Linked DNA regions of Homo sapiens: region 2 is linked to region 1. Evidence: promoter capture Hi-C in 16 types of primary human blood cells and fetal thymus (Javierre and others, 2016). All regions are on one chromosome and are shown on one strand. The core of a region is centred on a gene start or on the middle of the fragment in contact, and the rest is flanking DNA. Distances in the headings are between cores, read along the strand shown. Region 1 holds the start of B3GNT5 (UDP-GlcNAc:betaGal beta-1,3-N-acetylglucosaminyltransferase 5). Region 2 overlaps MCF2L2 (MCF.2 cell line derived transforming sequence-like 2).

Region 1 (4,807 bases), core at 217-2,716:
ATCTTCCCTAACAAGCAAAGGGGACTTGCCTGTCCTCTCGCATGTGTGATCTGAGCTTGTGTGGATCCCAGAGTGGGCATTCTGGACTACTTGACCTTGCCTATCTCTCCTTCACACCCTCTCATCTCTCCCTCCTACCACCAAAAAACTTGCATCGTATTTCCAATCTCCAGACATACTTTTGAAACCATTTATCTATCTGGTGTGTTTATCTGTATCTAGTATGATGTGAATATGTGATTTGTATGTGTGTCTACCACTGTTTTGGTCAGTTTGTATTTCTCGTGGGTACAGTTCTATGTGCTCATGTATGTGGAACATATGTATACTGACACATGGACCTAGCTCCAAATGATCTGAAAGGAATATAATTGTAATTGAATATTTGCACAGATATACAACATACACATGTGATGGCTGGGGGAAATGCATGTGGGATTTCAGTCAGCATTTTATTAGAGAAGGTATGTCATTAGTGCTGTATTAACAATGAATCAGCTTATTTGTGGGTCACTGTCAATGACTCCTTTGCAAATCACACATGTAAATATTTCTGTCTGTGGTCTGATGAACATGCAGTGCCACAGTCTGGGAGATGCTGAGCCATGCCCTGTGTAGGCAGCATATGAAAAGAACTGCATGATTTAAAAGATGCTGACCAGCTTAAGGAAAGCAATTTAAAAACTTCCTAAAAATCTAGTTTGAATGAACAACAGTTTTCATTTTGTGTGTGTGTTTTTTCTTTTAGAGATGGGGTCTTGCTATGTTGGCCACGCTGGTCTCTAACTCCTGGGATCAAGCAATCCTCCTGCGGCTCAGCCTCCCAAAGTGATGGGATTACAGGTGTGAGCCACCGTGTCTGCTGGCCCCACTGTTTTAAACCCTGATTCGACAATCATACATTTAACTCATTACCTGTCTTGTTCCTTTTACGACAAACTCAAAGCTTTTATTTTACTAAAGTATTTGGGTTAATCTTTTGCTTTTCTGTCATGTTCTGAAATATGTACAATAACAGAATCGCTCAAAATATTATCTCCGTTAAATGTTTTGTGGCTTTAGGGAGAGGTCTAACAACATGCGGGAAACAAGAAATCAAGCGCATCCAGGATTCATTTATAATCTCTCTCGTTGAGTAGAAGTCCGCATCTCTCGATATTGTCTGGTTACCTGCATGAAGTATTCTAAAGGAGGAAAATAGCTCAAAGAGGACATTCATGTGCACTCTGGCTTCCAGTTGGCCATTTGAGTAAGTGATCGCAATTAACTGACGAGCGGCAGGGAAACACTTCCTGGAATTCTCATCTACAGACAAGAACAAACTGGGGCGGGGCCCATCACCTTCACCTACGCGCCGGGAGGGTGGCGGCTGGCGGGCGGGGCCGGGCTCGGGCCGTGACGCCGAGAGTGCGGGGCGCGCGGCTGGGAGCCTCGCGCCCCCGCCCGGGCCCGCCCCCATCCCGCCCGCATACAGCCCGCATCCCGCCGGGGAAGCGAGCCCAGTCCAGCGCTGCCCGTCCAGTCCTCGCCCAAGATTTAAAGCCCGCAAGTTTTGTTCTTGAGACCAGCGACTTTAGCTCCGATGCGGGAAGGAAAGCCGACCTCCGATTTGGACATTTAAAGAGCTGGGCTTGAACTTCGTGAGTTTCGCTCTAAACTGCCCTTGAAATGAAGCTGGACTTGGAGGTAAAGTCACTGGGAAGCTGGCCTGGGGCGGGGTTTCCCCCTCTTCTCGTATTTTAGAAACGGACAGCGGCAGTGCAGCCCTAGTTTGCTGTAAGTTTCCTTACTTTGTTACTGAGGCCCCCAGAGCTCCACGCATAAGTGGTGTGACCAGAAACCTTTTAACAAGACCCGCCTGAGCCTGCGTTAGAGCTCCCGCTCGGAAAGTAAAAGACCATCCTAATCCGCGGCGCTGCGGAACCGGTGTCCCGTGTGGGAGGAACCGCGGCGTTCCCTGGGCGTAGGGCCCGCGAGGCCAGCACAGTCCGCCTCTTGGCGGAGCGCCCTGGGCCGGTGGTTCCGCGCGGAGTTAGTCTGTGGTCAGTTACGTGGTGAAAACACGGCTGTGCCGCGGCCGCATCTTTCCGCGGCCGAGGCCTCTCTGGGTGGGAGTGTTGGCTTCCTTTCCGGATCGCTAAATGGGGAAAGTTCTGGCCGCTCGGCGGGATACGTCTCCAGGCCACGGATGGTTCGTTCTCCGTGCCGCGGCCCCGAGCTGGGCTCCCTGGGTCTCCAGCGCGGGCTCCCGGCATTGGGGGCTGCGGGCCGGCCCCTCCGCCCCGCCCCCGCCCCGCCGCGCCTCCTCGGCCGAGCGGCTCGCGGTCTCCGGCGCGGGAGGCTCCGAGTCTGCCCACTCCGGGCCGAGCGAGGTCTCTGGAGGAGAAGAGTGGCGAGGAGGTGAGGGCACGCCGGCCCTCGCCCGGCGGGTGGCGCCAGGACTTCAGGTGGGAACGCGCGCTTGGGCCGGGGGCGCGTGGCTGGCGTGGACACCGGATCGGGGCCCGCCGCCCTGGCCCGGACCGCGCACGGCCCAGCGCCGGGAAGTCGGGAAGCCGGGGAGGCCTCTCCCACCGCGGGCCCCGGCAGCCCGCCCTCTGAAAGCGCGGCGGAGAAGGAGGCTCGTCCCCTCCCCGGAACGCCTTTGTTCCCTCCGGCCTGCCCGCGCGGGTGGCCAGCGGCTGGGACCCAGGCCGGGCCGCCGCCCAGGTGCGGCAGGTAGGCTCGGGGGCCGGGCAGCTCCGGTTGGGGCGGCTTCCCGGGGCCTGCGGGTCCCCGTCCCTGAGGAGCTCCGGCTCCTCGGTGGCGGGACAGGCCCGTGCGCGGGAGCCGCGAGGCGAACGCCGCGCCCACCAATTCGGTTGCCGGCCGGGGGCCCCAGGCTTGCGGCCACCCGCCTCCGGCTGGAGGGCTGAATTCGAGTCGAAAGCCCGTGTCGGGCTGGAAAGAAGAAACCGCCAACCTGAGAACGCTTTCGGCGAGTTACTGGCGGGGGAAATGGGGACAGGGAAGTGGGCAGGCGGGGAGACTGCAGCCGCAGATCTCCCTGGCGGGGAGGTCGTGGCCACTCTTTCCTTTGACTCTGCCTCATTTCATTTTGAATCCTGATGTGACAGAGGCAATTGCTTGCTTGGATACCATATAGGTAAAAGTAACAGTTTTCAACTCGACTCTTGACTACACCCTGTACATTCTTGGCCGGTGTTGGTTTTCTTAGGTTATGGATCATGTTAAAGGTACACCGATGTGGTAACCGCACAGTGGCCGATGGTGGCCTGAGGCTCATATTTATGGTAATTATCTGATGAAAGTACATCCATCAGAATTGGATTTGTGCGTCTGTGCCTTTATTTTGGGAAACCTTGCCTGTTCCCTGTGGGGGATGGGAGAGGAATGTGAAAAGCCGAAGTTGACCCAGAAAAGGATGATTGAAGGTAGTTGTATTAAGTGGTGGCACCGAAATGATTCCACCCTGAACTTTCTGAAAGGGTGATTAGTGATCAGCAGCAGACGTTATAACTTTCTCAAAATAAATTTATGGTAGATTTTCTATCTGGTCACAAGTGAGGAGGTGAAAGCTGCTTTTTGGGGCCAACTCTTTGCTTTTAAAGCAAGCTAAACGCAATACCAGAAAGGTTTCCATTCTGTACTTAACCTGCTTGTCCTTCTCACTCTTCCTTATCCTCCCGCACACGCTCTGAGCATTGACTGAGCACTCTGAGGAGGAGGCTGACTCAGGCTGACCCTTCCCGGCCCTGCAAGGCTCTAAGGTAGAACCAGTGTTATCACAGGAAAGGCCCAAGCCAAAGCTCAGAGCAGCTGTTCCTGAGAAAGTGGGAGATGAGGATGAGTAGGAGGTAGAGATGCTTATAACTGCTCTGCCCAGAGAAAACTCAGAAGGTGCAGAAGAGTTTTCAAAATAAAGTGCAGGCCCCATCAAGTAAAAAATGAAACATTGTATTTCATTAAAATGGTGATCAGTTTTCTCTTTTCATAAAAGACATTCAAATGGTGAGATTGTAAAAAAAAAAAAAAAGAAAAAGAAAACTTTCTAATTCTCAAAAATAGAACAGCTTGAATAATAACTCATGGGTTTTGAAATGGGTCATCTTTTAAAATGGGTCACTTTGGCTAGAATCATTGCACTTGGTGACTTTCACATTGTAAAGGGTCCAGTTCTTTCTGAGGCCCAATTGCACTAGAATCTGCATTTCAGAACACAGGAGGTATCAGGAAGAAACTGGGAGAAATTCAGAGGGAAATTGTCTCTTCTCAGAGTAACAAAATGTCCCCTATTCAGGGGGAATTTTATATATGCTGAAGTAAATAGATCTCAGCTTTGAATTTTTATAATACATTATGCCTTTTCTGAAATATTTCCATAGCCATTATTTTAATGCATTGTTAGAATAACCTTGTAAGGAGAGGAATTCATTGTATCTGTGTTCCAGAAACTGAGGCACAGTAAATTACAAGAGCTCTGCCCTTTGATATCGAATCTCTGTGAGCGAAGATGTAACCAGAACAGTGTAAATCTAGAATTACTTTCCTTACGGTATGCAATATCTAATTATTATGTATTAGTTTACATATATATAGGGGATGTAAGAATCTTTATATTTAAAGGATAAGAAACTTGATCAGGTGAGATACAAGATTTGAATAAAAAAGCGATTTTTTAGAAACATTTTAATTCTACAAATTCAGTTGCTGGCTTTGATATGTAACTTATTCAGATTTCTCTTCCATAGAAGGCTTTAACACTAGAAGCCAGTTCTCTACAAAAGAGAATGTTCTACCAAGTGTG
Region 2 (4,265 bases), core at 1,503-4,002, 150 kb after region 1:
GGGAAAGGAAAGGGAGTGGAGGTTCACAGCACATTCCATTGCTGTCTTTTAAGATGAGAGGTAACATACATGCAGTTTGTGTCAAAGTTATATCTTGAAACGGACAGGGGGAAGAGGAAAAGGGAAAGAAGAAAAAAATGTTTAAAAAGTGGTTTGAGGCTCAGCTAAGCTGATGGTTATAAAACAACAAAATAAAAGATCTATAGATTTGACTACATACAATTTTAAACCTTTTATGTTAAAAGACATCAAAAACAAAATTATAAACAGAAAACTGTAGAATAAAAAAACCTTCTATAAACTTAAGAAAGGTTTAATAACTTTAACATTTAAAAAATTTATGCACAAATACCTTGGTCCCAAGCCAAATATTAATAAAACAGCTAATAAAAACATTAAAATCATTAGAGTTCACTCATAATTTTTTAAAATTCATTAAAATGAATACAATAACACATTTATCTATCAAACAAGCAAAAATTCAAATAAGAAACAATAAAAATAGGCATCACCAGAAGGCTAATATTACAGGTACGGCATCATTCCCTTAACATGCATTGTTTTAAAACAACCCTGTAAGTTCTGTCATTAGCTCATATGTCATACAAAATCACAAGTGCTGATAAACAGATCAAGTGAAAACAAGAACCCCACATCCTGTTGATGGGTGTAAGTTTCCCAGAAGGCAATCTGACCAAAACGTATTTAAAAACTTCACACTTACACTCTCTAATCCAATAATATTTTCTAGAATTCTACTTGTAAAACAATATGGGCTGGGCGTGGTGGCTCACGCCTGTAATCCCAGCACTTTGGGAGGCCGAGATGGGTGGATCACGAGGTCAGGTGTTCGAGACCAGCCTGGCCAACATGGTGAAACCCCGTCTCTACTAAAAATACAAAAAAATTAGCCGGGCATGGTGGTGGGCGCCTGTAATCCTAGCTACTCGGGAGGCTGAGGCAGAAGAATCACTTGAACCTGGGAGGCGGAGGTTGCAGTGAGCCGAGATCTTGCCACTGCACTCTAGCCCAGGCGACAGTGCAAGACTCCATCTCAAAAACAGAAAGAAAAAAAAAATCTGAAATGTGTGCAAAAATTTCTGACTAAAGATGCTCCTTGCATCTTAAAAATAACATTGGGAAACTGGGAATAACCTATATGAACAACGTAATTTATGGTGAAATCATGTAGCAAAAAATTATAAAGCCGTTAAAATATTATCTATGGAGATGTCTTAATAGAATTTACAATATAATTGAATGTACAGTATAGTTTTCATAAGCAGAATATAATCTATATAATTCTATCTGTAATATGTATTATACATATAAAGAAAGCTAGATCATATAATCTTAACTATGTAAAAATGCCAAAGGAACAAAAAGCTAGAGAGATATAGCTCAAAAGGTAACTGATTATTATTAGAAAATGGGATTATAGACTTTCTTTCTTGTACTTTTCTGTATTTTCCAAATATTGAACAATGAGCATGTATTATTTTTTCTGTATTGTTTTTGTTTGCTAATTCTTCTTAAATTTGTTTTTTTAACCAATAGTATAAGTCACTCTTTTGGGAATACAGTTCTATGAGTTTTGACAAATGCATGGAGTCGTTTAAGCATCGACACAATCAGGATACAATATAGTTGATTGCCCCTGTGAGTCAAACCACTCACCCACCCTTAACCCCTGGAAATCACTGCATTCCTATAGTTTTACCTTTTCCCAGTATCATAGAAAGATTAGTATGTACCTTTTGAATCTGACATCTTTATCTTAGCATAATATATTTCAGATGTATTCATATTATCATCTGTATCAATAAATCATTTCATTATTGAATATGCCACTGGACAGATGTACCTCAGTTTATCAATTCTCCAGGTGAGGGACACCTGGGTTGTTTCCAGTTTCATTTTGTATTTTTTAGACAGGGTCTCACTCTGTCGCCCAGTTGGAGTGCAGTGGCGTGATCTTGGCTCACTGCAACCTCCGCCTCCCGACTTCAAGCAATCCTCATGCCTCAGCCTCCCCAGTAGCTGGGGTTATAGGCGCAAGCCACCATGCCCAGCTAATTTTTGTATTTTTAGCAGAGACAGGGTTTTACCATGCTGGCCAGGCTGTCTCGAACTCCTGACCTTAAGTGATCTGCCTGCCTCAGCCTCCCAAAAGTGCTGGGATTACAGGCGTGAGCCACCACCACACCTGGCCCTGCTTCTAGGTTTTACTGATTAAGAATAAAGCTGCTATAAATATTCATGAACAGATTTTTGAGTGACCGTGAGTTTTCATTTTCTTGGGTTGCGATTACTGAGTCGTATATTAAATGTATGTTTAACTTTATAAGACACTGCCAACTGTTTTCCAACATGGCTGTACCATTTTACATTCCTACCAACAGTGCGTGTAAGATATCCAGTCCCTTGTCATCTTCACCATGTCTTGGTATCGTCATTTTTTTTAGTCACTCTAACAGGTACACAATTTCACTGATGACTACTGATATTGAGCATATTTTCATGTGTTTTTTGCCATCTGTATATCTTATATCTTCCTTGATAAAGTATCCATTCAAATCTTTTGCCCATTTTTAAATTGGGTCATTTGAGTATTTTATTACTCAGCTTGAGAGTTCTTTTTATACATTCTGGATCGAGTCCTTTGTCAGATATGCTATTCACAAGTCTTGGTTTTTTTTGAGACAGAGTTTTGCTCTTGTTGTCCAGGCTGGAGTGCAGTAGCACAATCTCGGCTCACTGCAACCTCTGCCACCCGGGTCCAAGCGATTCTCCTGCCTCAGCCTCCCGAGTAGCTGAGATTACAGGCGCCTGCCACCATGCCCAGCTAATTTTTGTATTTTTAGTAGAGACGGGGTTTCACCACATTGGCCAGGCTGGTCTCGAACTCCTGACCTCAGGTGATCCACCCACCTTGGCCTCCCAAAGTGCTGGGATTACAGGCGTGAGCCACCACACCCAGCCTATTCACAAATCTTTTTTCCCCAGATGGTGGGTTGTCTTTTCATTCTCTTAACAGTATTTTTTGCAGAGAAAAAAAAATGTCAACGTTACCAAAATCTAACTTAAATCAAATTTCTCTTATGAACCAGACTTTTGGTCTTTGTGACCAACTAAGGTCACAAAGATTTCCTCCTATGTTTTCTAACAGATTTTTTATTAGGTTTTACATTTAGGTCCATGATCCACTTTGAGTGAATTTTTCTATATGGGGTGAGGTATACATAAGGATTCAATTGTTTTGCACACAGATGTCTAATTGTTCCAGCACCATTTGTTGAAATTGCCACTACATCATACTCCACTGAACTGCCTTTATACCTTTGTCAAAAATCATTTGGCCATATTTGTATGATACTATTCTGGAATATCTCCTCTGCTCCATTGATCTATATGTCTATCCTTTTGCCAATACCACACTGTCGTGATTACTTTGCTTTAAAGTAAGTTTTAAAATTAGGTAATGTGAGTCCTCCAAATGTACTCTTTTAAAAAAAAATTGTTATTATAGTTCTTTTTGCCTACTATAGTATCTCTTTTAGCTGATTCTCAATTTCTACAAAAATATACAATAGATTTTTTATTGAAGTCGTGTTTAATTCATGGATCAATTTGGGAAGAATTGACATCTTGAGTCTTCCAAACCTTAAATATGGATGATATGTTAGTTTTATAAACAGAGGTTTTGAAACCCTTATGAAATATCACATAATGCTCATTCTCCTCCCTCTTTCTTCTGCTTCTTTTTTAGATTCTACTGCAAAGCCACAGAAAATGACCAGGAAACATGATCTTTCTTTTTAAAATCTGGGTCAGTTTTCCCAAGGCACTGAGGGAGAAAATGGTCACCTCACATATGAGGTTTGTGTAGTGGAATTTTCCTTCTCATTTCTGCAGAATATGTCAAGGTCTAAAATCCCATTTCACAGCCTGCGGGCTTGTTCCTCCTTTGCAAGCAAGGCTAGAGGTATAAATATTGCAATAGAAATAAAATGGAATGAAGAATAGGAGGATGAGAATGCAAGAGTTCATAAGGCCTGTCATTCTAGTCTAGGTCCTGCACCAAACCCTCTTCACGGCGGGGGAGAAAAAAGAGGAAAGAGAAAGATGCTATGGGGTATGGGAGGTGCCAGTAAATTGGTGAGGGTAAGGGCCTGTGAAACCCTGAGGGCTAGGGTGGCCAGGGGACACTTTTGACACAAAGATGCCTCCGGCTCCATTTCAAAGTGTCTGTGTTGCTAGACGGT

Evidence for each region. The method cuts DNA at HindIII sites, captures the fragments that hold promoters and counts their contacts. A CHiCAGO score of 5 or more calls a contact.
Region 2: a contact is called between a fragment that was not itself captured here and the fragment with the promoter of B3GNT5 in region 1, in 2 of 17 cell types (M2 macrophages and erythroblasts). The highest score is 5.2, in M2 macrophages.

Annotation. Positions count from the first base shown.
Region 1 is chr3:183,251,787-183,256,593 of GRCh38, forward strand. It overlaps B3GNT5 (UDP-GlcNAc:betaGal beta-1,3-N-acetylglucosaminyltransferase 5), which reads left to right and starts at 1,467. Exons shown (of 2, transcript NM_032047.5): 1 at 1,467-1,686. The region is part of intron 15 of MCF2L2 (MCF.2 cell line derived transforming sequence-like 2); the gene reads right to left. LOC124906310 (a long non-coding RNA gene) reads left to right here. Exons shown (of 3, transcript XR_007096189.1): 3 at 749-769. The HindIII fragment of the contact is 12,746 bases long and covers 945-4,807 here.
Region 2 is chr3:183,403,807-183,408,071 of GRCh38, forward strand. The region is part of intron 1 of MCF2L2 (MCF.2 cell line derived transforming sequence-like 2); the gene reads right to left. Among named protein-coding and RNA genes, the nearest start is that of MCF2L2, 23 kb to the right of the region's middle. The HindIII fragment of the contact is 5,697 bases long and covers 1-4,265 here.